Linked DNA regions of Homo sapiens: region 1 is linked to region 2. The links are contacts of gene promoters, found by promoter capture Hi-C in blood cells and fetal thymus (Javierre and others, 2016). All regions are on one chromosome and are shown on one strand. Each heading gives the region's core, a stretch centred on a gene start or on the middle of the fragment in contact. The rest is flanking DNA. Distances are from core to core; before and after follow the strand shown. Region 1 has its middle 5.6 kb from the start of TBC1D20. Region 2 holds the start of NRSN2 (neurensin 2).

The links. The method cuts DNA at HindIII sites, captures the fragments that hold promoters and counts their contacts. A CHiCAGO score of 5 or more calls a contact.
Region 1: a contact is called between a fragment that was not itself captured here and the fragment with the promoter of NRSN2 in region 2, in 12 of 17 cell types (naive B cells, neutrophils, activated CD4 T cells and 9 more). The highest score is 8.6, in naive B cells.

What each region holds. Positions count from the first base shown.
Region 1 is chr20:464,761-471,483 of GRCh38, reverse strand. No RefSeq gene overlaps it. Among named protein-coding and RNA genes, the nearest start is that of TBC1D20, 5.6 kb to the right of the region's middle. The HindIII fragment of the contact is 3,621 bases long and covers 3,237-6,723 here.
Region 2 is chr20:341,051-348,360 of GRCh38, reverse strand. NRSN2 (neurensin 2) reads right to left here and starts at 1,250. Exons shown (of 5, transcript NM_001323682.2): 1 at 1,219-1,250; 2 at 849-927. It overlaps LOC101929937 (serine/arginine repetitive matrix protein 2-like), which reads left to right. Exons shown (of 4, transcript XM_047440635.1): 2 at 1-261; 3 at 347-942; 4 at 1,370-2,095. The coding sequence ends at 1,693. RefSeq lists silencers at 143-232, 413-942, 963-1,382 and enhancers at 189-951, 952-1,714, 1,715-2,478. The HindIII fragment of the contact is 16,038 bases long and covers 1-3,407 here.

The DNA of each region.
Region 1 (6,723 bases), core at 3,798-6,297, 120 kb before region 2:
TGGAGGGCAGAATTTGATAAATTGTGTGAACAGCAAACCTTTCTAATAATGGCCACTGTTATTCCTCCCCTACCCCTGACATGGCTCTCTCAAAATCCTATTTGGGTAAAACAGTAGCCTTTAAAGAGAGAGAAATTACAAAAAGCCCATGAATTAGTGGAAGAACAATTAAAAGCTGGCCATATAGAACTGTCAAACAGCCCTTGGAATTCGCCCATTTTCATCATTCCCAAAAGGTCTGGCAAATGGAGACTTTTGCATGACTTACAGGCTATCAATGCTAATTTGCAACCTATGGGGCCCCTTCAACGGGACCTCCCTTCCCCTTTGAGGCGATTCCTCAAGATTGGCCTATAGTCATTATTGACTTAAAGGACTGCTTTTATACTATTCCCCTTGTAGAACAGGACAGAGAAAAATTGGCATTTACAATACCAGTTATCAGTAATGAGAGGCCAGCTCGCTGATTTCATTGGAAAGTACTTCCTCAAGGGATGCTGTTCAGTCCTACCATGTGTCAGTATCATGTAAATCAGGCTTTGCTCCCCAGTAGAAAAGAATTTCCTAGTTGCAAGATTATTCATTTTATGGATGATATTTTCCTAGCAGCCCCAACAGAGCCAGTGCTTTTAAGTTTATATGCCTCTGTCATAAAGAATACACAGTTAAGAGGTTTAATCATAGCACCTGAAAAAGTACAATTGGAAATATCTTGGATACATACTAACTTCTGGTCAGTAAGACCTCAAAAGGTTAAATACTAGCGATTTACACACCTTAAATGATTATCAAAAGTTACTGGGCAATATTAATTGACTTCACCCCACGTTGGGCATAACTACTGATAAGTTACAAAACTGTTTTCTATCCTAAAGGGCAATACAGCCCTAGACTCTCCCAGGTATTTGACTCCTGCAGCAAAAAGGGAAATTGAGGAAATAGAGCAAGCTATTTCTCAGAGGCAACTATATCACATAGACACCCCGATAGTCAGTTCAATTGTTTGTTTTTCCTACTAAACATTCCCCAACAGTATTAATAGGAGAGATGACCCCAGGACTACGCTTCCTAGAATGGGTTTTTTGCTCACATACCGAGACTAAAACACTATCTTCCTATATCCAGCTAGTTAGTAAAGTCATCTATACAGGCCGCAGATAGTGCAATCAGTTGCTAGGTTATGATGTCATAAGAATTCCTTTGAGTAAAAGGCAATTTGGATCAGTATTGCCCCTATCTCTAGATCTTCAGATAGCAATCTCTGATTACACAGGCCATATAGAGCATGCCCTTCCTGCTGACAACGTAATTCAGTTCTTATCTCGTACTCCTGTAGTTGTGCCTACAAAAGTAGTTCACTCCCCCATACCCCAACACTTTAACACTTTTTACTGATGGCTCTGGTAAAAACAGAAAAGCGCCTGTTTGGTGGAGACTGCATAATTTCCTCACTCATTCTGGATTTACTAGCACTCAGAGAGCTGAGGTTGGAGCCTTAATATTGCCCCTGGAGAACTTTTCCACTCTGCCTATCAATATTAGTGACTCTGCTTACTCTGTTTATTTATTGCAAAACCTTAAAACAGCCCTCATTAAGTCCACTCTCAAGCTCACCCTGTGTGCACTTTTTCTTCAACTTCAGCAATTGCTGGATCAACGTACACATCCTATTTTTATCACACATATTCGAGCCCACAGCTCACTGCCTGGCCCACTGGCTTATGGCAATGAACAAGCAGACCTGCAAGTTATGATGTCACTGCTTCACCAAGCCATGCAGTTGCGTCAATTTTTCCACCAAAATTGAAGGAACTTAACTGAACAATTTCAACTTACCCAAAGACTAGCTAAACAAATTATCCTGCAATGCCCGGATTGCCAGCTCACAGGCATGTCCCCTCCTTCAACAGGCGTTAACCCTAGAGGACTAGAACCTAATCAGTTATGGCAAACAGATGTTACTCACGTCCCTGAATTTGGAAAACTAAGATATGTACAAGTATCCATTGATACCTATTCTCACCTAATTAGCACAATGCTCTTCCTGGAAAGTCCACCTGATATGTTATTAAACTCTTCTCTTAACTTTTGCATTTATGGGGCGGCCCACAAAAATTAAAACTGATAATGGTCTGGCTCATGCCAGCTCACAATTTCAACAATTTTGTCACACGTGGAACATCCAGCATTCCACAGGCATCCCGTATAACCCCCAAGGACAGGCCATAGTAGAACGTGTCCACTCTTAAAAATATGCTCAAAAAACAAAAAAGGGGGAGTATGAGTAAGGACCCTGCAACACTACTAGCAAAAGCCTTATTTACCCTTAATTTCTTAAATTTAAATGATAAATTTCAATCAGCTATAGAAAAGCACTTTGCTAAAACCTCTCAAGACATAAAACCCACAGTTTTATGGAAAGATGTAAACAGTAATGTATGGTGTGGTCCAAATGAGTTGCCAACATGGGGAAGAGGATATGGTTGTGTTCACATCACCTCAGGTCCTCTTTGGATTCCAGCACAACGCATCAAACCTTAACATGGTGTGGCTAGGACCCAACCTGGTACCAGAAATGAAGGAAATGTCCCTGCAGGACCCACAGCCCTGGATGATGCAGCTTCCTCAGACGACACAAGCCCCAGACATTACCTGGGGGATGCTGAAGAAGACAACTCAGGAGGCTGAACGAATCCTGCTCTGGACACAAACACCATTCACTCCAGATAATTTATTCCTTACTATGCTTTATTAACCTTGTTTAATTCCCTCACTCTGCCTGCAACCAGTACCTGCTACACTCTATTGGGCCCATCTTCTAAATCTGCTTTTCTTCCACCCTATTACCTGGGTGGACACCCCCTTCCCAGCCTCTAATAACGTAACTGCTTGGCTGGAAGGGGTTAACATACCCCCAGTGGGGTTCCTTAGTAAGGGCACACACTGAACTGAGGTGGCAAGTAACACTACATGTCACTCCTTGATTGGAAAAGAATGTTACTGATTATATTCACGTTTATCTTATGTTATTTACTAATTCTAGGATGCAAAGCCGAAATACAAGCAGTGACCACTACACCTGAAAAACCTGTTGCTGCACATCTGTACTCTTCAATTAACAAAAGCTGATGCAAAAAACAGAAAAGGGGGAGATGTAGGAGATTGGTCAGGGTGGTGGGAGAAATTATAGTAAAGACACAAACCTTCTTGAAAGGCCAGGAGGTTTTACAAAAGCTTTGGAAGGAAATTATGGCTGAAGGCAGCCAAATTGTCTCATCTGGAGCCTGAGAGCAAAGGGCAGATAACAAGGGAATGTAAAGAAACTTATCTAGATAAATTTGTCTACTCCTGTCTCCAGAAACCAACCTTTAATCATTTGCATGCAGGACTGCTCTCTACTCGGGGGGTCAACAATGTTTATTACCCACAAATTGTGTTTGCTCCAAGCCTTTGTCATTAAATCTGTACCAAACAAATGCGAGGGCTGCCGGCTTAGGGGAACTGCTAATTCTCTTCGGCCCCTAGTGCTGGCAGTCCCCTATCCTGCTCTTTCACTGGATATCTGTATCTGAGTACTCCTTTCATCCGTCGCTTGGGCAGAGTCTGCAGGACAGACTCGGCAAGCCTTCCCAGTAGCTAGGACAACAGGCATGCACCAAAAATGCCTAGATAATTTTTATTTTTTTTGTAGAGATGGGGTTTCACTATGTTGTCCAGGCTGATCTCAAACTCCTGTGTTCAAGCAATCTTCCTGCCTTGGCCTCCCAAAGTGCTGGGAATACAGGCATGAGCCACCCACCCAGCCTATCACAACTCCTAACTAGGTTAATTCAAACCCCCACGCTAAAGACCTAACAGAAGGAAAAGTGTGCCCATTTCTACACAAAACCCATTTCCCTGGGCCTCTACTATCCTACACAAGATGTCCAACTTTCACCAACACTTATGAAGCAAGAGATAAATGACATACTCCCAAGAGACAAAGCAATCTTCAGAACCAAACACAGATGTCAGAGCTATGTGATACAGAATTTCAAATAACTAATATGGTAAAAGGTCTAACAGTAAAAGTAGACAATATGCAAGATCAAAAGTGCAATCTCAGTAGAGAGATGGAAGCTATGAGAACCAAATGGAACTGGTCAAAATAAGAAACACACTAATGGCCAGGTGCGGTGGCTCACGCCTGTAATTCCAGCACTTTGGGAGGCCGAGGCGGGCAGATCACGAGGTCAGGAGATTGAGACCATCCTGGCTAACGCGGTGAAACCCCGTCTCTACTAAAAATACAAAAAATCAGCCGGGCATGGTGGCGGGAGCCTGTAGTCCCACCTACTCAGGAGGCTGAGGCAGGAGAATGGTGTGAACCCGGGAGGCAGAGCTTGCAGTGAGCCGAGATTGCGCCACTGCACGCCTGGAGGACAGAGCGAGACTCTGTCTCAAAAAAAAAAAAAAAAAAGAAACACACTAACAGAGATGCAGAGATGAAGAGTGCCTCATGGAGCTCGTCAGTGGATTTGACACAGCCAAGGAGAGAATGAATGAACTCAAAGATAGGTCAAGAGAAATTATTCAAACTGAAACACTGGGGAAAAAGGGTGAAGGGAAAAAAAACCGTCAAAAGAGAACATCCAAGAGTTGTGGGACAATATCAAACACTCAAACATATTATAGTTAGATTCCCAGAAGAAAGGAGAGAGAACAGGAAAAGAAACATTTGAAGAATTAAAGGCTGAGAACTTTTCAACATTAAGGACAGAGCAAACCACAAAATCCAAGAAGCTCAGAGAACATGCAGAATAAACTCATATATATATATATATATATATATATATATATATATATACACACACACATATAAAATTAGATATACTCGAAATGCTAAAACAAAAGAAAATCTTAAAGGCAGCAAGGAAAAAGAAGACATTGCATACAGAGGAAGCTAAGAATTATGGAGACGTCAGAAACTATGCAAGCTAGAAGCCAATGGAGTGACCTTATTGCTGATGCTGATAGGGGAAAAACACATACACACACAAAAACTGCTCACCCAAAATTCCGGAATCCTATACCCAAATGAAAGTGTCTTTCAAAATAAAGGAGAAATAAACCCTGTTTCAGATAAAGAAAAACGGAATTCATTGCTCCTTCTACAAGATACTAAAGGAAGTTTTTCAGGCAAAAGGAATATGATACCAGAAAAAAACCTGGGTCTACACAATGAAATTAAGAGCACTGGAAATTGAATGAAGGTAAGTACAATTAAAATCTTTTTTAAATTACCTTAGAAATAACTGAAGTGAGCTGGGCATGGGGCTCAAACTTGAAATCCCATCATTTTTGGGAGGCTGAAGCAGGAGGATCCCTTGAGGCCAGGAGTTGAAGGCCAGCCTGGGCAACAGCCCCAATACCTCCATCTCTACAATAGAGGGTCACAAAACTTTTTTTTTTTTTTTTTTTTTTTTATGTGGAGTCTCACTCTGTCACCCAGGCTGGAGTGCAATGGTGTGATCTCGGCTCACTGCAGTCTCCGCCTCCTGGGTTCAAGTGATTCTCCTGCCTCAGCCTCCTGAGTAGCTGGGATTACAGACCTGTGCCACTATGCCTGGCTAATTTTTGTATGTTTAGTAAAGACGGGGTTTCACCACTTTGGCCAAGCTGGTCTCGAACTCCTGGCCTCATGTAATCTGCCTGCCTCGGCCTCCCAAAGTGCTGGGATTACAGGTGTGAGCCACCACGTCCTGCCAATCTTTTTCTATAAAGGAGCAGATAGGCCGGGTGCGGTGGCTCATGCCTGTAATCCCAGGCACTTTGGGAGGCTGAGGCGGGCGGATCACCTGAGGTCGGGAGTTTGAGACCAGCCTGACCAACATGGCAAAACCCCGTCTCTACTAAAAATACAAAAAAATTAGCCAGGCATGGTGGCGGGCTAATCCCAGCTACTCGGGAGGCTGAGGCAGGAGAATCACGTGGACCTGGGAGGCGGAGGTTGCAGTGAGCTGCGATTGCGCCATTGCACTCCAGCCTGGGCAACAAGAGTGAAACTCCATCTCAAAAAAATACATACATACATACACACATAAAATAAATAAATACATAAAGGAGCAGATAATAAATATTTTAGGTTTTGTAGGCCATATCTCTGTTGCAACCACTGAACTCTACCGTTGCAGCATGAAAACAGCCATAGACAGTAGGTAAATGAATGAGCGTGACTCTGTTTCAGTAAAGGTTTATGGACACTGAGATTTAAATTCCATATAGTTTTAATGTGCTACAATTAAGTTGTGATTTTTCAACATTTATCAAGGTAAAAGCCATTCTTAGTTCATGAGCCGTGCAAAATCAGGCAGTAGAGTGGTTTTGGCTTGCAGGTGGGCAGACCATCTTTTTTGCTAACCGCCTGGTCTAAGGCAAGCATATTAGCAATGAATTGTGTACTTGCAGCACATGCAAAAATTTAAAATACTGATAAAATGAATCGTGGTATATTTCTAAGATGAAATTCTACTTAACAACAAAAACAAATGAACTATTGATTAATGCAACATGATTGCTTATAAAATAATTACGCTGAGTAAAAGAAGCCAGACAAAAAAGACTACATACTATATGATTCCGTCCATAAAAAATTCCAGAAAATGAAAACCAATCTATAGTGACAGGATGTAGATCAGTGGTTGTTTGCAAGTGGTTGGTGGGTAGAGGGGAGAAAGCAAGAGA
Region 2 (7,310 bases), core at 1-2,500:
GAGGAAAAACAACAACAACAAAAGCCACGACAGAGAACGGGAAAAGGCAGAGACTGAAAGCGAAGGACCGTCGGAGGAGGAGGGCGAGAGGTCTGGAGAGGAGGGCTCGCCGGAGGAGGCGGGCGGGGCGGGCTGTGCGGAGGGTGCGGCCAGCGCGGTACCCGCCCCGGCGAGGCGCTGGGGAGGCCCGGGTGGGGAGAAGAAATGGGGCCTGGGGGACGGTAGGAGCCTCCGTGCGGAGACCACTGTTCAAGGCCACAGGTGAGGAGGTGTGGAGGGGGCTTCGGGGCTGTTGACCTGGGTCAGCTCCTCCCCTCCAATTCACCGCTTCCGCGACTCCAAATAGATGGAATCACTCAGTCCTGCTGCTACTGGAGAGGGAAGGTGACCTTGACGCTGCCTCCCGCTCGGCCTGGCCCCTCCGCCTGGCGTTTCAGGGCTGCACGGAGTAGGTCTGGCGGGCGGGGGGCGGGGCGCAGGCACCCGGGACGAGGGTTGCCATGGGAACCGCTAGGGAGGCGTCCCCAGCCCGGGAGCCGGGAGGAGCTCGGTGGGAGGGGAGCGGGAGGCGGAGGGGGCTGCGCTGTCCGACGTGGGGAGACTGCGGCGGAGGGAGGAGGCGAGGGGCGGCAGGCACGGGCGGAAGTGACGGAAGCCAGGGCCCGAAGATGGACGGAATCTGTCGCCTCTGCACAGCCTCATTCAGTTGTGTCCTTCCCAGACCCTCAGACTCGCCCACTACAGCGTCCAGCGCTGCCCGGGCGGGGGAGAAGGGGCGCCCTCCCGGGGGGGATGGGTAGGGGGTGTCGGCCGGGGAAATCAGGCCATTTCCCGCCTCCCTTCCCCACCGGCACCCGCGCCACTCTTCCTGACAGGACCACCGATGCCCTGCTCCACACCAACTGCGTCCTTTTCCCTAGAGAGAAACTGAGGCAGAGAGGGGTAGGAATGGGTTTTTGAAGTGTTGGCGGGGGTGGGGGTGTCCTTTGAAGCCTCTACCCAGCCTATCAACCCTGAGGCGTCGAGGGGCGATGGGGCTGTTTCTGTCTCCCGCCCCTGCTGCTTCCCTGGGACCCCCACCTCCCAAAGCCGAGGCTCAGGCGCAAAGGTCCCGGCCCTGGCGGGACACGGCCCGGGCTGAGGATGCGGGCAGAGCGCGGGGGTTCTCCAGGGGCTGGGGCTGGGGCCTGGCCGCGCGTGGGGCAGGGCTAAGCTCACCTCTCTGCCTGCTGTCTCCGCCGAGCAAAGGCGGGTCCGGTTCGCGCCTGCGCCGCAGTTCGGGGCGGGGGAGGGGGCGCCGGCCCGCCTCAGGGCCTGGCTCTGCAGACGGCGGCCGCCTGCAGCTCCCCCGGCTCCTGTCCCCTTCCAGAGTTCCCTGCTCGCTCGGACACCCCAGCGCCCTCACAGAGACCCCTCGGACTCCCTGGGCCCCAGCCCCTCACGCAGCCCCTCAGACTCCTCACCGAAGCTGCCGTCACTCCCGCAGTTCCCCACCCCTCCCGTGGAAGACCCATCCCTTAACCGAGCCTTCCTCTCCTCGCTGCACCGTCAGTCCCTTTTCCAGGTCTCCATCCCCCTCATGGAGCCCCACCCCAGCGTAGAAACCGCTTCTCCTCGCCGGGCCCCCGCCCTCTTCACAGGCTCCCATCTGTCTCCGGGCTCCTACCGGGAAGTCCCCTCCCACTTGCCTTGAGAGCCGCTAATCCCTCTGGAGTCCTCACATCTCACTCAGTCCCCATCCTCTTTTCATCCTCTTTTCCTCTTTGAGTCCCTACCCATCCCTGGTACGGGATCAGCCCTTGTACCTTGAGAAGGGAGTTTGGGTGGAGGACTCGGGGTTGGGAGAGAAGTGACCTCCACTTTGGAAGGAGCTAATGACAGCCTCCCTTGTTGTTTCCTCCCCTAGCCCCAGTTCTGCCCTGGGCAATGCGTGCCCACTGCCCATCTCCCTGGAGAGCCAGCCTGTGCCAGGCAGCTGCATCTGCCTCCCACCCTGTCATGAGCTGTCAGCCTTGATTTTGTCCCACATTTGCTGTGTGATCTTGGGAAAGTCATTGTGCCCCTCCAACCGTCATCAAGCACCCTTGCACAGACATGCCTTTGTGTCTTGAGCATCTATTCTGTTTCTCCTTGTGCTAGGGGCTGGGGACACACAGAAGAATGAGCTCGGCAAGATAGGGCCACATCTTCCTTTTTAGTTTTTCTTTTTCTTTTTTTTTAATTTTTATTTTTTTGAGACAGCGTCTCACTCTGTTGTCCAGGCTGGAGTGCGGTGGCATGATCACGGCTCACTGCAGCCTCGATCTCCCAAGGCTCAGGTGATCCTCCCACCTCAGTCGCCTGAGGAGCTGGGACTACAGGCACGCACTACCATGCCTAGCTAATTTTTTGTATTTTTAATAGAGACAGGGTTTTGCCATGATGCCCAGGCTGGTCTTGAACTCCTGAGCTCAAGTGATCCACCTGCCTCGGCCTCCCAAAGTGCTGGGATTGTAAGCGTGAGCCACCGCGTCTGGCCAAGGCCACATATTTCTTGTTCGTGTTGTATCTGTGAGCCTCCCATAGTGCTTGGCACTGAGTAGGCAGCCCAGTAAATATTTACTGAAGACAGTCTAATAATAGTAGCAAACTTATTATGCTCACTATGTGCAAAGTGTTTAAGCGTTTTGTATGTTCTATTTACTTACTCATTTAAGTGTGTGTGTGTGTGTGTATGTGTGTGTGTGTGATGGGAGGAACTCTTGCAGCTCAAAACTAAAGGCCCCAAATGGTGACAGGAGATGGCATTGGAGAGGCAGGCAGAAGTGAGACCTTGTGGGGCCTCATAAGCCAAGGTAAGGAGTTTGAGCTTCAGCCCAAGGGTAGTGGGGAGCCATGGAAGGGTTATGAAGAGGGGTGGGATGTGATCTGATTTTCATTCTGAAAAGACCTCTGGCTGCTGTCAAGAGAACAGCATGTTGAGCACAAGAGTGACAGCAAGAGATCAGCAAAGAGATCAGAGATGACAGTGTCTTGGCCTGGTGCAGAGAAATGAAGACATTCAAGAGATGTTAGCCTGTAAAATGAACTACAGGAATAGCTACAGATTGGAAACAACCTGTGGTGGTTTTAAAATATAGCTACAAATTCTTTAGCACTCCTCTGTAGAGAGGTGGGATCCTTGTACCCTCTCTGAATCTTGGGTGAGCTGATGACTGCTTCAACCAATGGAGTACGGTGGAAGTAACACTCTGACTTCTAAGGTCCAGACATAAAAGTACAGGCAACTTCTGCTAGAACTCTAGCTCTTGGAGCCTGAGGCACCATGCCTACCTAGGGCTCCATGTCTGCTTAGAGGCTGCCATGCTGTCAGGATGCCAAGACCATCAGGAGAGGACACATGAAGGCACCACAGTCCCAGCTAAGCTTAGCTTTGAGTCATCCCAGTTCAAGCATAAAAGAAGTGAGTGAAGAAGAACCAGATGAGGCCAGGCACGGTGGCTCACACCTGTAATCCCAGCACTTTGGGAGGCCAAGGCGGGTGGATACCCTGAGTTCAGGAGTTCGAGACCAGCCTGGCCACATGGCAAAACCCCGTCTCTACTAAAAATACAAAAATAGCCGGGCATGGTGGCGTGCACCTGTAATCCCAGCTACTAGGGAGGATGAGGCAGGAGAATTGCTTGAACCCGGGAGGCAGAGGTTGCAGTGAGCCGACATCATGCCATTGCACTGTAGAAGGCGAAGGGGAAGGGGAAGAACAAGATGATTCCAGTGGCCAGCCATTTGAATCAGCTTCAGCCTTCAAATCTTCAAATCTTCCTAGCTGAAGACTCAAACATTGCAGAGTAGAAACAAGCTGGCCTCACTGTGTCCTGCCTGAATTCCTGACACACAGAACCCACAAGCATATTCAAGTGGTTATTGTGTTATACCACTAGGTTTGGGGGGTTTTGTTCTGTGCTAACAGATAACTGGGACACCACTTAAATATCCATCAATGGAAGACGAGTTATGTACATTATATGTCTTTGTGGAATACTATGCATCCATTAGAAAGAAGAAATTAGTCTATAATTATTTATATTAATCACACTTCAAGTGAAGAAGGATGCAGTGTTCTGAAAAGTCTTGATAGTATGCCTCCATTTGAAATTCTCAAAAAGATGGCACATATAGAGAACTTCTGGGAAAATAGACAAGAAAGAGGTAACAGTAGATGCCTTGGGGGAGGGTAACTGATGGCAAGGGTGGGAATGAAATTCACTTTTTTTTTTTTTTTTTGAGATGGAGTCTCGCTCTGTCACCAGGCTGGAGGGCAGTGGTGCGATCTCAGCTCACTGCAACCTCCGCCTCCCGGGTTCAAGCGATTCTCCTGCCTCAGCCTCCCCAGTAGCTGGGACTACAAGCACATGCCACCATGCCCAGCTAATTTTTTTTTGTATTTTTAGTACAGATGAGGTTTCACCATGTTGGCCAGGATGGTCTCTATCTCCTGACCTCATGATCTGCCTGCCTCGGCCTCCCAAAGTGCTGGGATTACAGGCATGAGCCACTGTGCCCGGCCGAAATTCACTTTTTACTATACACCTCTATGTTAGTTATCTATTGATTTTGTAAAAATTTAGGTGAGAAATGATGAAGAATTGGAGTGGGCAGGAAAAATGGAAAGGAGGGTGCAGGTGTGAAAAATGTCCATAAAGTTAAGTTGGCAGAACTTGGTTACTAAGAAGTAAGGGAAGTGACAGGGATTGAGAGAGAGAGAGAGAGACAGAGAGAGGGAGAGAGACAGAGAGGATAGAGGCTGACTTTTATGTTTATAGGTCAGGTGGGTGATGCTCCCATTAACAGAGATGTAAAATAGATGAGGGAAAGCCAGGTTGTGGAGAAGTTGATGCCCTTTGCTTTTGGCAGAGTTGAATGGCACTGTACAGGACATTCTGGCCTAGAGTCAGGGGCAAGGTCTTGGCCTTAGATACAACATAGGGAATTGTTCTCACTGGAAATGGCAGTTTTAAACTTGAACTGGCTTTAAACAAAGGGAATATAAAGGCTCACATAATTGAGAAGTCAAGGGATACTGGCTTCAGGCATGGCTGTATCCAGATGCTCAGGATCTTTCTCTTTATCTCTTGGCTCTTCCCTCATCTGTGTTGGCTTCAATGTCAGGCAGATTTTCCCTATATGGTAGCAAAATGGCCACAGACTTCAAATTTAACTGCTGGGAAAAGAATCTGTTTCTCCTTATAGTCTCAGGAAAAGCCCTGATGTTGATTCCCCTCACCCCAGTTAGATAATATGTCATTTACTGAACCCACTGGAGTGTCTCTGATTGGCTGGTTACTTGCTCACCCTTTGGGTGGCTGGCAGTGCTTAACCCAGAGAAACCTCTTGGACTGAGAACCTGCTTGAAGAGCTTCCCTAAAGGGAAATTGAAATACTGTTACTGTAAGAAAGGGCAGTGGGGCCAGGCCCAGTGGCTCATGCCTGTAATCCCAGCACTTTGGGAGGCTGAGGCAGGTGGATCACAAGGTCAGGAGTTTGAGACCAGCCTGACCAACATGGTGAAACCCTGTCTCTACTAAAAATACAAAAATCAGCCGGGTGTGGTGGCATGCACCTGTAGTCCCAGCTACTCCGGAGGCTGAGGCAGGAGAATCACTTGAAGCTGGGAGGCGGAGGTTGCAGTGAGCCAAGATCGTGCCACTGCACCGTAGCCTGGGTGATAAGAGTGAGACTCTGTCTCAAAAAAAAAAAAAAAAAAAAAAAAAAAAAAAAAGGGCAGTGGATGTAGAGCTGGCAAAAACAATGACATTGAGATGAAGCGTGCTCAGGTCAGAGCTCTAACGAAGCCCTCTGCTGCAGACTGAATGTTTGTATCTCCCTCATATTCATATGTTGAAGTCCTAAGGTGATGTTATTTGGAAGTGGGCCTTTGGGAGGGATTACAGCCTGATAAGAGGAGACTTGAGAGCTTGCTTCTTCTCTGTGCCATTTGGGGCTACAATAGGATGGTCGTCTGTACACCAGAAGTCAGGCCCTTGGTTGCCAGCAGAATGGAATTTGCCAGCACCTTGATCTTAGACTCTTCACCCTGCAGACCTGAGGAATAAATGTGTGTTGTCAAGCCACCTGCTCCATGCTAAATTGTTATAGTAGCCCAAGCAGATTAAGATGCCTCTGTTTGGCTGTCTATGGCTGCATAACAGACCACTCCAAATCCAATGATTTTTATCATCTTTCACAATTTCTGTGGGTCAGGAATTTGGGAAGGGCTCATCTGGGTGGTTCTGCCTTGGTGTCTCTTTTGTGGTTACAGTGGAAGCCGGAGCACTGGGGAGCTGGAGCAGCTGGGAGCTGGCCAAGCATCTCTCTTCATATAGCCTCAAGGCCTCTCCATGTTGTCTCTCTGCATGAGCCAGTTGGGCTTCCTCACAGCATGGCAGCTGAGAGTGTTGACACCTCTTACACTGTAGCTCAGGACTCCCATGAGTCAGGCCACATTGCCTTTATGACCCAGCCTCACAAGTCACCATAGAATCATTTCTACTGTAGTCTGAGTCACTAAGTTTGGCTCAGATTCAAGGGGAAGAAACAGACTCTGTTACTCAGTGGGAGGAGTCTTAAAGAATTTATAGACATGGTTGGGCACGATGGCTGAAGTCTGTAATCCTAGCACTTTGGGAGGCCAAGATGGGAGGATCGCTTGAGCCCAGGAGCTCGAGACCAGCTTGGTCAACACAGGGAGCCCCTATCTCTCCAAAAAACTTAAAAGTTAAAAAAAATTAGCTGAGCATGGTGGCACGCACCTGATCGCACCACTGTATCCAGCTCGGGCAACAAAGTGAGACTCTATCTCAAAAAAAAAAAAAAAAATTATGGACATGTTTTAAAACCACCATACTACATTTGAAGAGGTCAGAGGAGGAGAAAGAACCACAGAAGCATCTAGAGAGATAGCGGGTGGTGGTGGGTGGGGGCAAGAATCTGGGATGTGTGTATGTGTGTTTTGGAGTGGGGGTGCATTGTGTCATAGAAACCAAAGAAACACATTTCCAAGAAGGACCTGCTCAGCCTTGCCAAGTGCATAAGAGACACACAGCGGGACAACAGGACTTAGGTTTGGCAACAAGGAGGTCAGTGGGAACCTTGGCCAGGAGAATTTAGGGTGTGATGTGGAAGGCAAGAAAGTGAGGAGGCAGGGGCCCTTTGTGGAGTGGTTTGGAGAAGGGGTGTGTATGTATGTGCACCTGTGTGTGTGTGTGTGTGAAGTGCAAAAAGCCCCACACCATGGACAGAAGGGGAGGGGGCCCCTGATATCAGAGCAGGGG